3 separate regions of the Homo sapiens genome follow, and all the other regions are linked to region 3. Evidence: promoter capture Hi-C in 16 types of primary human blood cells and fetal thymus (Javierre and others, 2016). All regions are on one chromosome and are shown on one strand. Each heading gives the region's core, a stretch centred on a gene start or on the middle of the fragment in contact. The rest is flanking DNA. Distances are from core to core; before and after follow the strand shown. Region 1 has its middle 3.1 kb from the start of DTNBP1. Region 2 overlaps DTNBP1 (dystrobrevin binding protein 1). Region 3 holds the start of RANBP9 (RAN binding protein 9).

Region 1 (4,012 bases), core at 1-2,500, 2.0 Mb after region 3:
CATTCCCCATATTAACCCATCAAATCCAATCAACTCTACTCCTGAAGTATTTCTGGAACCTCCTTCTCTTTCTATATCTTCACTATATTTATCCTGGTCGAAGGCACCATCCTCTTTCAATGGGAACACAGACAGTTCTTCCAGATTCTACTCTTTTGCCATACACACCCCTATAATCCATCCTTGACACAGCAGCCAGAAAGAGTTATTTAAAAGATCAATCGGATCACGTTGCTCCCCTGCTTAAAATCTTCCAATTGCCTCCTGGGCACTTGGAATAAAATTCAAACTACTTACCCCCTTAAAAAGCCCTAAAATTTGAATGTTTTCTAGCACTGTATCCAAATTGATTACTAGTCACCTATCATGTCCTTGACAATTAAGACATAATAGCCTTTTTTTTTTTTTTTTTTTTGGTGTGTTCTTAGAAAATTCCAGGTTTATTTCCACCTGTGGTGTTTTCACAAACTTTTCTCCAAACTGTCCCTTGTCTGGCTCCTTATAACATAAGGGTCACATCCTAAATAGCATCACATTAGATAGGTTTTACTTACCATTCAAGTTACACACCCAATCACTTCCTATCACGTAGCCTGTTTCTCAACTTAGTACACATTAGAAAATTTATTCAATAATTATTTGCTATTTATTAATTTAGTTGTTTACAAACATATTTTAAAACCACGACAAATAAGGCATTCACCTCAGGTACAAAATTTACGGGAGCCAAAAAGCTCAGTAATCAAGATAAGTAATATTTTAATACAATATTTAAAAAATTCAAAATTAATGAAAAAAAATCTGTGATGAACAAAATATCAAAATTTTAAATACACAGGATCTGTTAGGGCTGGGATTGGATGAGGCCAGTGAGGTAAGTAGCACAAGTACAGGCCCAGATGTAAACTGCTCTGTCTTATTAAGCTTTGCATCCCCAGCAATGAAAACAGTGAATGGCACATAACAGACACCCAGTAAATGTCTTGTTGCAGGAGTTAAATAAGATAAAGGACTTAGCTTGTAGCTGGGGGACCACCTCTTCCCCACTCTTGATGTTTTCTTCCATGGGAAGGGAGCTCTTCTGCTAACATAAAGAAGTACCCAGCCTCTCCTGGTGGGGAAGAGGTGACTACGATGATTAGTGAGCTAGAAGTAAGGAGCTTGGTCTCATCTTCTTTTCTTTTTGTTGAGTGAACACTTCCAACAAAGAGCATTCATTCTGCTGCCTAAAGACAGGCTTGAAGGGCAACCCAGTGCTTTTTGTGACTGGGTACTAGAAGTTCTGCTTGCCCATGAATATAAGCCATGTGTTCCATCAGTCTTCCTAGATATAAAAGTGATATTTTGGCCTCTTTATGCTGACACTATTGTTTTATTTCTCAGTTTGCTCAGACAAGTAAGAAAGAGGAGTGCTGTTTATTGAGCCTTCTTCTACCTCTCAGAAACAGTGCCTGGAACAAAGCAAGTGATCAAATGATCAAATCTACAGACAGGTCCCTTAGTATCTAGTAGATTTGAAAACCACAAGTACTGGGAAATATTAAATTTTTTTCTTTTATTCAATTAAACTCTACACATAAGCTTTCAATTTACTAAGTTTCATACATTCCAACAAAGCACCAAATCCACTCAAAAAAGACTCTTGCCTGTCACTAAAAAATAGCTTTACTGGTTGTGCCTGATCATTTCTGTCTTGACCAATGCACTGTTTATTAGTCTATGGCATGTTTGTATTTGAGGTGCTTTCTGAACATTCTTAATTCCATCATATCTATTAAATTAAAAAACAGTGAAAGTTTTAAAAGTGCTAATAAAAAGATAATTTATGATTTAAAGAAGTAAATATTAAAAAAATTAGAAAATAACTACTGTTGTACATGAGTTGCTCAGGAGGAATGATTAAGGACCAAGAGTTGAAGCATGTGACATGTCGTGTTTACATAAGTAACAGTAATCAGCCAGAAACTAGGAAGATGGATTGGCAAAATGAAAAAAAAAACAAAGCTTTTAAGTACAGTTTGAGAACCAACATCAGTATGGAAGCTATTGACCTAATCTTAATTCAGGAATTGGTTGAGAGTTGATTGTTGTTTGTTTGGGGTTTTTTTGTTTGTTTTGTTTTAAGACGGAGTCTCCCTCTGTCACCTAGGCTGGAGTGCAGTGGTGCAATCTTGGCTCACTGTAGCCTCCACCTCCTGGGTTCAAGTGATTCTCCTGCCTCAGCCTCCTGGGTAGCTGGGATTACAGGCTTCCGCCACCACGCCCAGCTAATTTTTGTATTTTTAGTAGAGACAAGGTTTCACTATGTTGGACAGGCTGGTCTCAAACTCCTGACCTCAAGTGATCCGCCTGCCTTGGCCTCCCAAAATGCTGGGATTACAGGCATGAGCCACCGCGCCCAGCAGAGAGTTGATTTTTTGAGAGCATATTAGTTGCGCCCAGGAAAAGCTTTGGTGATACAACGTTTGGGGTGAGCACCAAAGCTGCTAAGAAGTTTCCTGAAATAGTGCTTCCCTGACCAGCAGCAGCCGCATCATCTGGGAGCTTCCTGCAAAGGTAGAATCGTAGGCCCCAGCCAGCCCTACTGAATCAGAATCTGAGTTTTATTAAGACCCCCCGGGTGATTTTTATTCATGTTAACATTTGAGAAGCCCTACTCGTTGATGAAAGGGGGTTTCCTGTCTCAGCAGATTCTTATTGGAGACAAAGTGATAAATGAGGATTTGGCGGAGTTAGAACCAAAGAGAAAGATGCTATTAAAGAAGGGGTGGTACGAAAGAAACCACCATCAGAGCGAACAGGCAACCTACAGAATGGGAGAAAATTTTTGCAATCTACTCATCGGACAAAGGGCTAATATCCAGAATCTACAATGAACTCAAACAAATTTACAAGAAAAAAACAACCCCATCAACAAGTGGGCAAAGGATGTGAACAGACACTTCTCAAAAGAAGACATTTATGCAGCCAAAAGACACATGAAAAAATGCTCATCATCGCTGACCATCAGAGAAATGCAAATCAAAACCACAATGAGATACCATCTCACACCAGTTAGAATGGCGATCACTAAAAAGTCAGGAAACAACAGGTGCTGGAGAGAATGTGGAGAAATAGGAACACTTTTACACTGTTGGTGGGACTGTAAACTAGTTCAACCATTGTGGAAGTCAGTGTGGCGATTCCTCAGGGATCTAGAACTAGAAATACCATTTGACCCAGCCATCCCATTACTGGGTATATACCCAAAGGACTGTAAATCATGCTGCTATAAAGACACATGAACACATATGTTTATTGTGGCACTATTCGCAATAGCAAAGACTTGGAACCAACCCAAATGTCCAACAATGATAGACTGGATTAAGAAAACGTGGCACATATACACCATGGAATACTATGCAGTGAAAAAAATGATGAGTTCATGTCCTTTGTAGGGACATGGATGAAGCTGGAAACCATTATTCTCGGCAAACTATCGCAAGGACAAAAAACCAAACACCGCATGTTCTCACTCATTGGTGGGAATTGAACAGTGAGAACACATGGACACAGGAAGGGGAACATCATACACTGGGGCCTGTTGTGGGGTGGAGGGAGGCGGGAGGGATAGCATTAGGAGATATACCTAATGTTAAATGACGAGTTAATGGGTGCAGCACACCAACTTGGCACATGTACCCTAAAACTTAAAGTATAATAATAATAAAAAAAAAGCAGGAAAAAAAAGAAGGGGCTGTAGAACCCAGAAAAGTTCATACCATTTCATTGGCAGAGCTCTTTTAGAGTAATTGGAAAGGGACTATGGTTAATTGCTTTGCAGGAACCTGACTTAGATTTGTAAAGATATTTACAGTGTGTTGTTATTATTTGTGATGTTTTTAAAAAGCCAACATGTAAATATTTTTGATATCTTTAATTTTTAAGAGTTTAATGGTTACAGAAGAATCCATGTAAAAGCTGTAAATGTTTCTCGTGAAGCAATGAGTATTTTTAAGAATGAGGTAAGCTA
Region 2 (3,815 bases), core at 654-3,153, 1.9 Mb after region 3:
TTTTACACTTTTCTAAGACCCAGAATCTCTTTTCCATGCCCTGCCTTCAGAAATAACAAAACACTGACCCTGAAAGGCATGGCAACAGCCAGGGGACTTGAAGAATACAGTTCATAGAGACCTACTGAGAGCTCCCATCCCACTGCCTCATCACCTCATCCTACTGCCTCATACTGATATTGAGGATATCATCAATGTGGTTGGAATCCTAGATGCATTTATAAATTTTATGATTCTGAGCAAGTTGCAACCTCTCCAAGCCTTAGTTTATCTGTAAATTGGGAATAATAAAAGCTACTTTTGTGGGGTTCTTGTGAGAATTACAGATAGTATCTGTAAATCATCTAATCATCTCTGACATACAGTAGGTGCTATAAACATTAGCTACTGTTATCAGCAACAGCACTCCAAATACTACGTATCTATTTTGTTCACACACAAAAAACTGTCTTATGACTTGCCAATTACTTGCCTTGTAAATCAGTCATGTTTTGCTTTGAATAAGGCAATATTAAAAACAGGAGGAGATAATAGGGTATCTTTAGCTTCCCACCTAAAAGACTAAAACAGGTTATTAGCTCATACAGACAGCTCCTACCTCCTACTTTACTAAGATCTTAAGCTTGATTAGGAAATAGTAAGCTGCAATATTATCCTTAGATGTGGCATCATCAAACATAAAAGATAATTTTCTGAATATAAACCCAAGAAAAAAAGAATACCAACATAATCCATCCAAATGAACAACGACAAAAAAATAAATTTCCACAGAGTATAAATTTAGCCAAACAGGTACCCTAATTTACTTTGTTGTTGTTGTTGTTTGAGACAAGGTCTCACTATGTTGCCCAGGCTGGATTCAAACTCCTGGGCTCAAGCACTCCTCCTGCCTCAGTCTCCAGAATAGCTGCAACTGCAGGCACGTGCCACCACACCCAGCACAAGTACCCTCATTTAACCAGGTTTGTTTGATCTCCAATCCGTTTGAAGAGAAAAAAATACACTACAAGACATGAAGTTCTAGCATATCTAAATTTTAAAAGCAACAATTTCTGGAATACATTCTACAGTAAGGACAAAGTCACCTAATCCATTTTCTATATGTATGCTTTTAAACAGAGACCAAATGTCAACAAAGACAACCTGAGTCACTTTAAGAATCAACATAATTATAATTATGTGTCCGGAGCTGACCTGAGGCAGAAACAGAACTAATTTCTACACTTTACATCATTTTCTGTGGAATCCTCAACTAATCAAAATATGAAATCATGATTTTCCAAAAAATCCTGTTAACCCAGAATTTCATGTGTTCCTGAAAAGCTCTGAAATTACACCAAACCCTGCCCAAGTTGTTTTCATTCCTAAAAGTAATGTACAATGAAAACATTGGACTTACTCAGATTTGCTGTCATGGATTCTAAGTCTGCGATTAAAGCTGGGAGCTGCTGGAGCTGCTCTTGCAGCTCCACGAGGCTTGTCTTTTTCTTCTCCCAGTGCGCAGAAAGCATGACCACCTCGCTATCCACCAGCTGCAGCACACAAGAAGGGGGGTAAAGTGAAACCAGGTTTTAGGCACAAAGAAAGTACAGTTAACGTAATGAGATTTAATGTTATCTTTAACAACCCCTCTACTCAGTAGAGATTACGGTACATTCTAAAAGAGACTGAAGTTGTTTTCATTTTTAGAAAAGAAACAACTTAATATTCAGTGCAGGAAACCTCCAATTACTGCTTGTATCAGTGCATCTTAACCCACAGAAGAGAAAGTTTAAAAATGACTTCAGAAGTCACTTCTAAGTATACCCTGTTTTAAGCAGACCATGTATTTGAAAAGCTAAATCTAGAAAAAAAAAAAACAAAAACAAAAAACTACCACTAACAACCAAAAAGAAAACAAACATAAAACATAATTAACGGGTAATTATTGGCTTTACGAAAGGAAGTCTTCAAAGAAAAGTTCCCTAATACATTTAGAATATACCATGTTTCAATTTACATTTAAACAGGAATACTTATTGCATAAAGTATATAAAGGAATTTTGAGGAAACTGGCCAATTCCAGAATTCCAGAAAAAGAGGAAATGATTTAAGTTAATGAGGAATTCAGCAGATGTAAAGGGTTCCTAATAGCAAGGTTGTGAAATTCTAGAATAGCCTAAGATAATTCTAACTTCTTTTGCTAAAGACTATAAAGAAAATGACAGACATTAGTTTCTCCCAGACAATTCTGTTTTGGTCTTAACATAGTGGGAGGGACAAGGGCCTAGAAAGACTTAGAAGGAGCAAGAAGAGGTGATCTTTTGAAAATATCAACATGAATAAGCAAGAACTGTGGAAAAAACTCCATAATCTGTACGATAAAAAATAAAGGTAACAAAACCCATTATATGACAGAAGAAAATGAATTTGAGTATTCAAAACAGACAATTTGTACATCTCAAGATTAAGGTTCTTTTTTTTTTTTTTTTTTTTTTTTGAGACGAAGTTTCGCTCTTGTTGCCCAGGCTGGAGTGCAGTGGTGCTATCTTGGCTCACTGCAACCTCCGCCTCCCAGGTTCATGCGATTCTCCTGCCTCAGACTCCCCAGTAGTTGGGACTACAGGCACCTACCACCACACCCGGCTAATTTTTTGTATTTTTAGTAGAGACAGGGTTTCACCAAGTTGGCCAGGCTGGTTTTGAACTCCTGGCCTCAAGCAATCCACCCATCTTGGCCTCCCAAAGTGTTAGGATTACAGGCATGAGCCACTGTGCCCGGCCAGGATTAAGGCTCTTTAAGAGTTAGAATCTGAATACAACTGATTCTTACTAAGTTCCACTTAATAAATTAAGAAAGAACTTTGGAGGAATGAATATATCAAAGATACAAAATTATTTGTATGTAGTACTAGATTGTTTTTGTTCGTACATTTCACTATAGTAGGAATTCTCATTTGAAATAAAGAACTAAGCTATGACACATCTCCCTGTGGTTTCTCAGCCCACGCTGGAGGGATAAACACATAATCTCTCACATTCAAGCCTCAACTGAGCTGGGAGGCCACATCAAGTTTCACGCAAACCGCATTTCTCATTATTTTTGTGTATTTAAAAATGTCTGTTGCCAACTGGTCTTTAAAAAAAATCTTTAAAAGTAGCTTAAAACATACTGAAAAAACAGCTAAAATGCAGTAAGGAAACCAAAGCTTGAAACAAGGATCTATGTTCACAAAATTCATTTATAATATTCCACAAACTTCCACTGACCACCCACTATTTGCTAAGCCCTATTTTGGATACTGAAGATGTAATGATTCCTGCCCTCTTATTGTTTATACTTCAGTGGCAGCCCTCATAAATTCTCTTAACTTCAGATTTTAAACTCTAAAAAAAAAAATTCCTATATTATGGGCTATTTTGGTTTCTAATTTGAAAACTCTAGAATAAATAATTTTAGATATTAAAAATTACATATTAACCATTTCTTACTGAAAATTAAAGTGCAATGTTTAAATATTGAAATTTAACTACAGTTTAGTTCATACCTGCAATAAAACTGAAAATTAAATTCTGAATATAGAATATAAGCATATGTAGAAAAACTATATCAGAAAACACTAAACTATCATTTAAAAGAATGGAAGGGTAAACAGATTCTCAGAAATTATCAATAATTATCAACAATTATACAATACTAAAACATTTTGAACATTTTCTAAATACCAGACCCTGTGCTAAGTAATTTACATATATTATCTCATTTAAACCACACAGCAACTCTATACACTAAGCAATATTATAACCTCCATTATACAGATTTTAAAAATTGAGGT
Region 3 (3,792 bases), core at 1,231-3,730:
AGGAAATCTAGAATTCTTTGTTCATCTACACTGGCTCTGACTTTATGAGCAAATTATTTACTGTCAACCATAAATTTAAAATTATAAAATTCTGTCACATCTAACAATAGCTTTCTGGCAGCCAGATCAGAAGTAAACACCTCATAACATAGCACCGTTCACACAAATTAAAACATAAAAGTAGAAATACTTCACAAGGAAATTAACAAAAGGTCCTAACTTGAGAAAAAACAAAGATTTGATATTGTGAATGAAACGTTCAGACGTTTAGATTAAGGAGGATAACACTTGGAAGTACTTCTTTGGATGTATGGCGAGAATAAAAAGAATGTTCAACAAGGCCTATTTTTGTGCGTGATTCTTTGCAGCCAAATCATTTGGTAGATTTCTATTGCCATTCGCCTTTCTGATTAAATAGTAACTTACTTATCAAGCTTCTTCTCAAATTTCAGTCCCGTATAAGTTAAGAATTTAACCACAAGGTTGTTTATCTCCTCTACATACATGTCACTAGGATCTGAGTAGACCCCTTTACAGCCAATCAAAGTGAGGCTGCCGTGAATGTAAAAGCTTCTGCTTTAGGTTTGGGGCCTAAAACCCTGGATTTGTTTCCAGACAAGACTGATACGTTAGGTTGATTTTTTTTTCTTCCACACAAGTAAACTTGATACATGCTATTAAATTGGGCTACATTTCAATAGTTCCCATAGCAATTCATAATTTTATATACAACTGATTTGCTTCCAGCTTTGTTTTAACCTAGGAGAGGTAGGTGAGGGAGGAAAGGGGCAAGCACAAGCCTAAGGTTGTTGTTTTTAACTGCAAGTGCAAAACATAAGCCAATTTTCTTCAAAATACTAAGCTGCATTTTGTTCCATCTTCGTTTTCAACAAGACTTCATGTGATATCAACACCTAAGGACCTGTATAGGGCACTTCCAATCGGGAGGGGTAGGTTTCTGCTCCCCTAAGAAAAAGGGTGTTCCTGGGGTTCCCTTCTCTTACCCTCCCGGTTGCTTTTACTAAAATATATTGATGGCAAACTTGGGCCCCTTGTCCTTTTGTCCCCCTAGACAATCTCTGGCCTAATTTTGATTACTCCTCCCCCTGTGTATCCCTGCTCTCTCTTAATTAGAAATCATACCTCAGAATCGTGCCTCTCTTCCCCCCTTGTAAGAGGAGAACGCCTGACCCACCACCTGGAGAACAATGTAACCCAACTCCGAGTCCATGGATTCCTCTACCCAAGCCCCAAGATTTATCTCCCAGGGAAATCAGAAAGCCAGTTCTGTCCTGTCATCCCGGATTCCCTCAAGGTGTCCTGCTCCTGGTCTAGGATTACCAGCTCCTTTCTACCCTGGGGCATTCTACTCACCTTCCTTTTCCAAGAATCTCGCCCCTCACCCTCGGACCCTTCACCGCGACCCCCGCGCCCACCCGGAGCAGCACAACAGGCGGCGAGTGGCCTCCGAGGGCAGAGCCCGCGAGGGCGGGGGTCGGGGGCGGGTCGAGAGCGGCGCAGCGGCGGCCGGCCACGTCGGGTCAGTGCCCCACTCCCACCGCAGGACACACGCCCAGTACCTTTGTAGTGCACCCGCAGGTTGTTCTGAGAGAGGCCGATGTAGCTGAACTTGTCCTTCGGGCTCCAGGACCGAGGCAGCGGCGTCTCTTGTTCGTCCACGGCCGGGTAGAGACGCTTCAGCCGCCGCTGCAACTCCTTCTCCTGCTCGTTCAGGGCCGAGTCCCCGTGAGGGAAGGGGGCCGCGGCGCTGCTGCCCGCCACCAGAGCTGGGGTCGGGGCTCCTCCAGCCGGGCCGGGGCCCGCTGCAAGGCCCGGGGGAGCGGGCGGCCCGCTGGCGGGGGCAGCCGCTGAGGCAGGGGGAGGCGGGGGCGGCGGCGGGGGCGGCGGGGCCGCGGTGGCCGGGGGCGGCGGCGGCGGAGGGTGGAGGAGCAGGGCGGCCGCCGCGGCCCCTAAGCCTTCGCCGCCCGCACCGCCGCCGGGCGAGCCGGCCGGAGAAGAGCCGGCGCTGACGGCCGGGGGCGCCGGCAGGACGACTCCGGAGACTGGGGCCAAGGCCGCCGGCGGTGGCGGCGACAGCTGCTGCTGCTGTTGCTGCTGCTGCGGCGGCGGCGGCGGCGGCTGCCCGGACATCCCGGCCGCGACTCAGCCTGCGGCCACCTCCACCTCTTCTCTCCTTCCTCCTCTGCTTCCCGGGGGCGCTGTCGCTGCGGCCGCCGGCACCAGGCGCCCAGTCCGCCCGCCCCGGAAGCAGGCGGCGGGCCGCGCGCCCAGGGAGACCGCGGCGGTTGAGGAGCTCGGAGACGCGGGAGTAGGCGGCGGGCCCGGGAGGCCGGGAGAGAACGTTGGCCGGAGCGCGGGCGCGCGGCCCGGGGACGAGGCGCCGAGGGCGGGGGCGACGCGGGAGCGCGGGAGGGGAAGGCGCGCTGGCGGCCGCCGCGGCCGCTGCTCTCGCGGCTGTTTCCCGGCGGGCGGGCCGGGCCGGCGCGAGACGCTGCGCGCGGGCGGCGCTAGGCGAGGGGGCGGGACGGAGGCGCGAGAGAGGCGCGAGCGGTGCGAGGGGGCGGGCCGCGGGGCTCCCGGCTGTGCGCCGCGAGGCGTCCTCCCGGGCCCGCCAGTCGCTCGTGGGCAGGATCGCTGGGCTCCCGGCGCCGCAGGTCCCTTCGGAGGTGTCCGCCTCCTCTCCCTTGGCGGCCGCCGTCGCCCCCCTCGCCGGCGAATCCCCTCCCACTTGACTTCTTTTTGTTGTCGTCGCCCCACCTCCCCACCGTAGGGCTCCTCGGAGCCGAGGCGCCGCTTCTCGTCCAGGCGAGAGTAATCGAGCCCCGCTGGGGCCGCCGCGAGCCCAGGCCCCGGGGCGCTCTAGGACCCGTCGGCCCGGGGCGTGCGGAGCGGCTCAGGCTCCCCGCGCAGTGCTGCTAGCTCTCGCCTCAGTCCCGTTCCCGTTTGCCGCCTCCCTCCAAAGAGGAACGCATTGCCTTTGGTACTTCAGTGTTTAATTCCGTAGCATTGACCATATGGGCAGTAGAAACCACTTCTGAAGGCAGTCTCCCACTTAGAATAGTGACTGTTTCATTAATTAATTTTACGAGGACTCACAGTGAACTTAACAGTGGTAGAAGATGTCATTAATAAAGACCGGCATATCTTCAAAAAGCAGGAGCAGGCACTGTATGAATACAAGATTATAGTGTGTGTTTAGGAAGGGCTTCTAGAGACGTCAGAACATTTTATAGACTCGTTAATTTTCATAACAGGGTTCTTAGGTAACAGAAAATTATGCCCATTTTTAAAACAAGGAAATATTTACCGAGATCAGCAGAGTCAAAAATAGGACTTCCTACTTTGCAATTCCCAATAGAATGCTTCGTCGACTAATTTGGCACAACTTGCCAAGTGTTGCTCTCTGACCCATCATAACATTACTACTTTGTTTTCACCACTTCCCTTTGTTTAGCTTATCCCTCCCTAGCTGGCAAAATCAGGCTTTGCATATGTAAATTGTGTGATGTAAATTCTGATATTTTGTTTGCTTCCAAAGATATGATGGTAATCATTTGGTCAAATAAGAAATGTTTTGCCGAAGAGAAAATTATTTCGTTTTGAAGAAGGTAGGCCAAAGGTGATTTAATTTAAGGCCAAGATTATCTGGCCAGAACAAATAACAGAGTCATTCGGCCTAATTTCTCCCTCAGTTACCCAGACAACTAGATGTTCTGTTGTACTTTTATTATTATTATTATTATTGTTTTGTCGCCCAGGCTGGAGTGCAGT

The links. The method cuts DNA at HindIII sites, captures the fragments that hold promoters and counts their contacts. A CHiCAGO score of 5 or more calls a contact.
Region 1: a contact is called between a fragment that was not itself captured here and the fragment with the promoter of RANBP9 in region 3, in 4 of 17 cell types (fetal thymus, total B cells, activated CD4 T cells and 1 more). The highest score is 10.0, in fetal thymus.
Region 2: a contact is called between a fragment that was not itself captured here and the fragment with the promoter of RANBP9 in region 3, in 5 of 17 cell types (activated CD4 T cells, naive B cells, total CD4 T cells and 2 more). The highest score is 8.7, in activated CD4 T cells.

Annotation. Positions count from the first base shown.
Region 1 is chr6:15,664,081-15,668,092 of GRCh38, forward strand. No RefSeq gene overlaps it. Among named protein-coding and RNA genes, the nearest start is that of DTNBP1, 3.1 kb to the left of the region's middle. The HindIII fragment of the contact is 657 bases long and covers 923-1,579 here.
Region 2 is chr6:15,625,944-15,629,758 of GRCh38, forward strand. DTNBP1 (dystrobrevin binding protein 1) reads right to left here. Exons shown (of 10, transcript NM_032122.5): 5 at 1,400-1,532. Among named protein-coding and RNA genes, the nearest start is that of DTNBP1, 35 kb to the right of the region's middle. The HindIII fragment of the contact is 2,566 bases long and covers 621-3,186 here.
Region 3 is chr6:13,709,355-13,713,146 of GRCh38, forward strand. It overlaps RANBP9 (RAN binding protein 9), which reads right to left and starts at 2,481. Exons shown (of 14, transcript NM_005493.3): 1 at 1,581-2,481. The coding sequence starts at 2,151. It overlaps LOC124901264 (a long non-coding RNA gene), which reads right to left and starts at 3,400. Exons shown (of 2, transcript XR_007059462.1): 1 at 3,329-3,400; 2 at 2,998-3,187. RefSeq lists silencers at 1,426-1,545, 1,806-1,855, 1,936-2,055, 2,216-2,985. The HindIII fragment of the contact is 8,985 bases long and covers 569-3,792 here.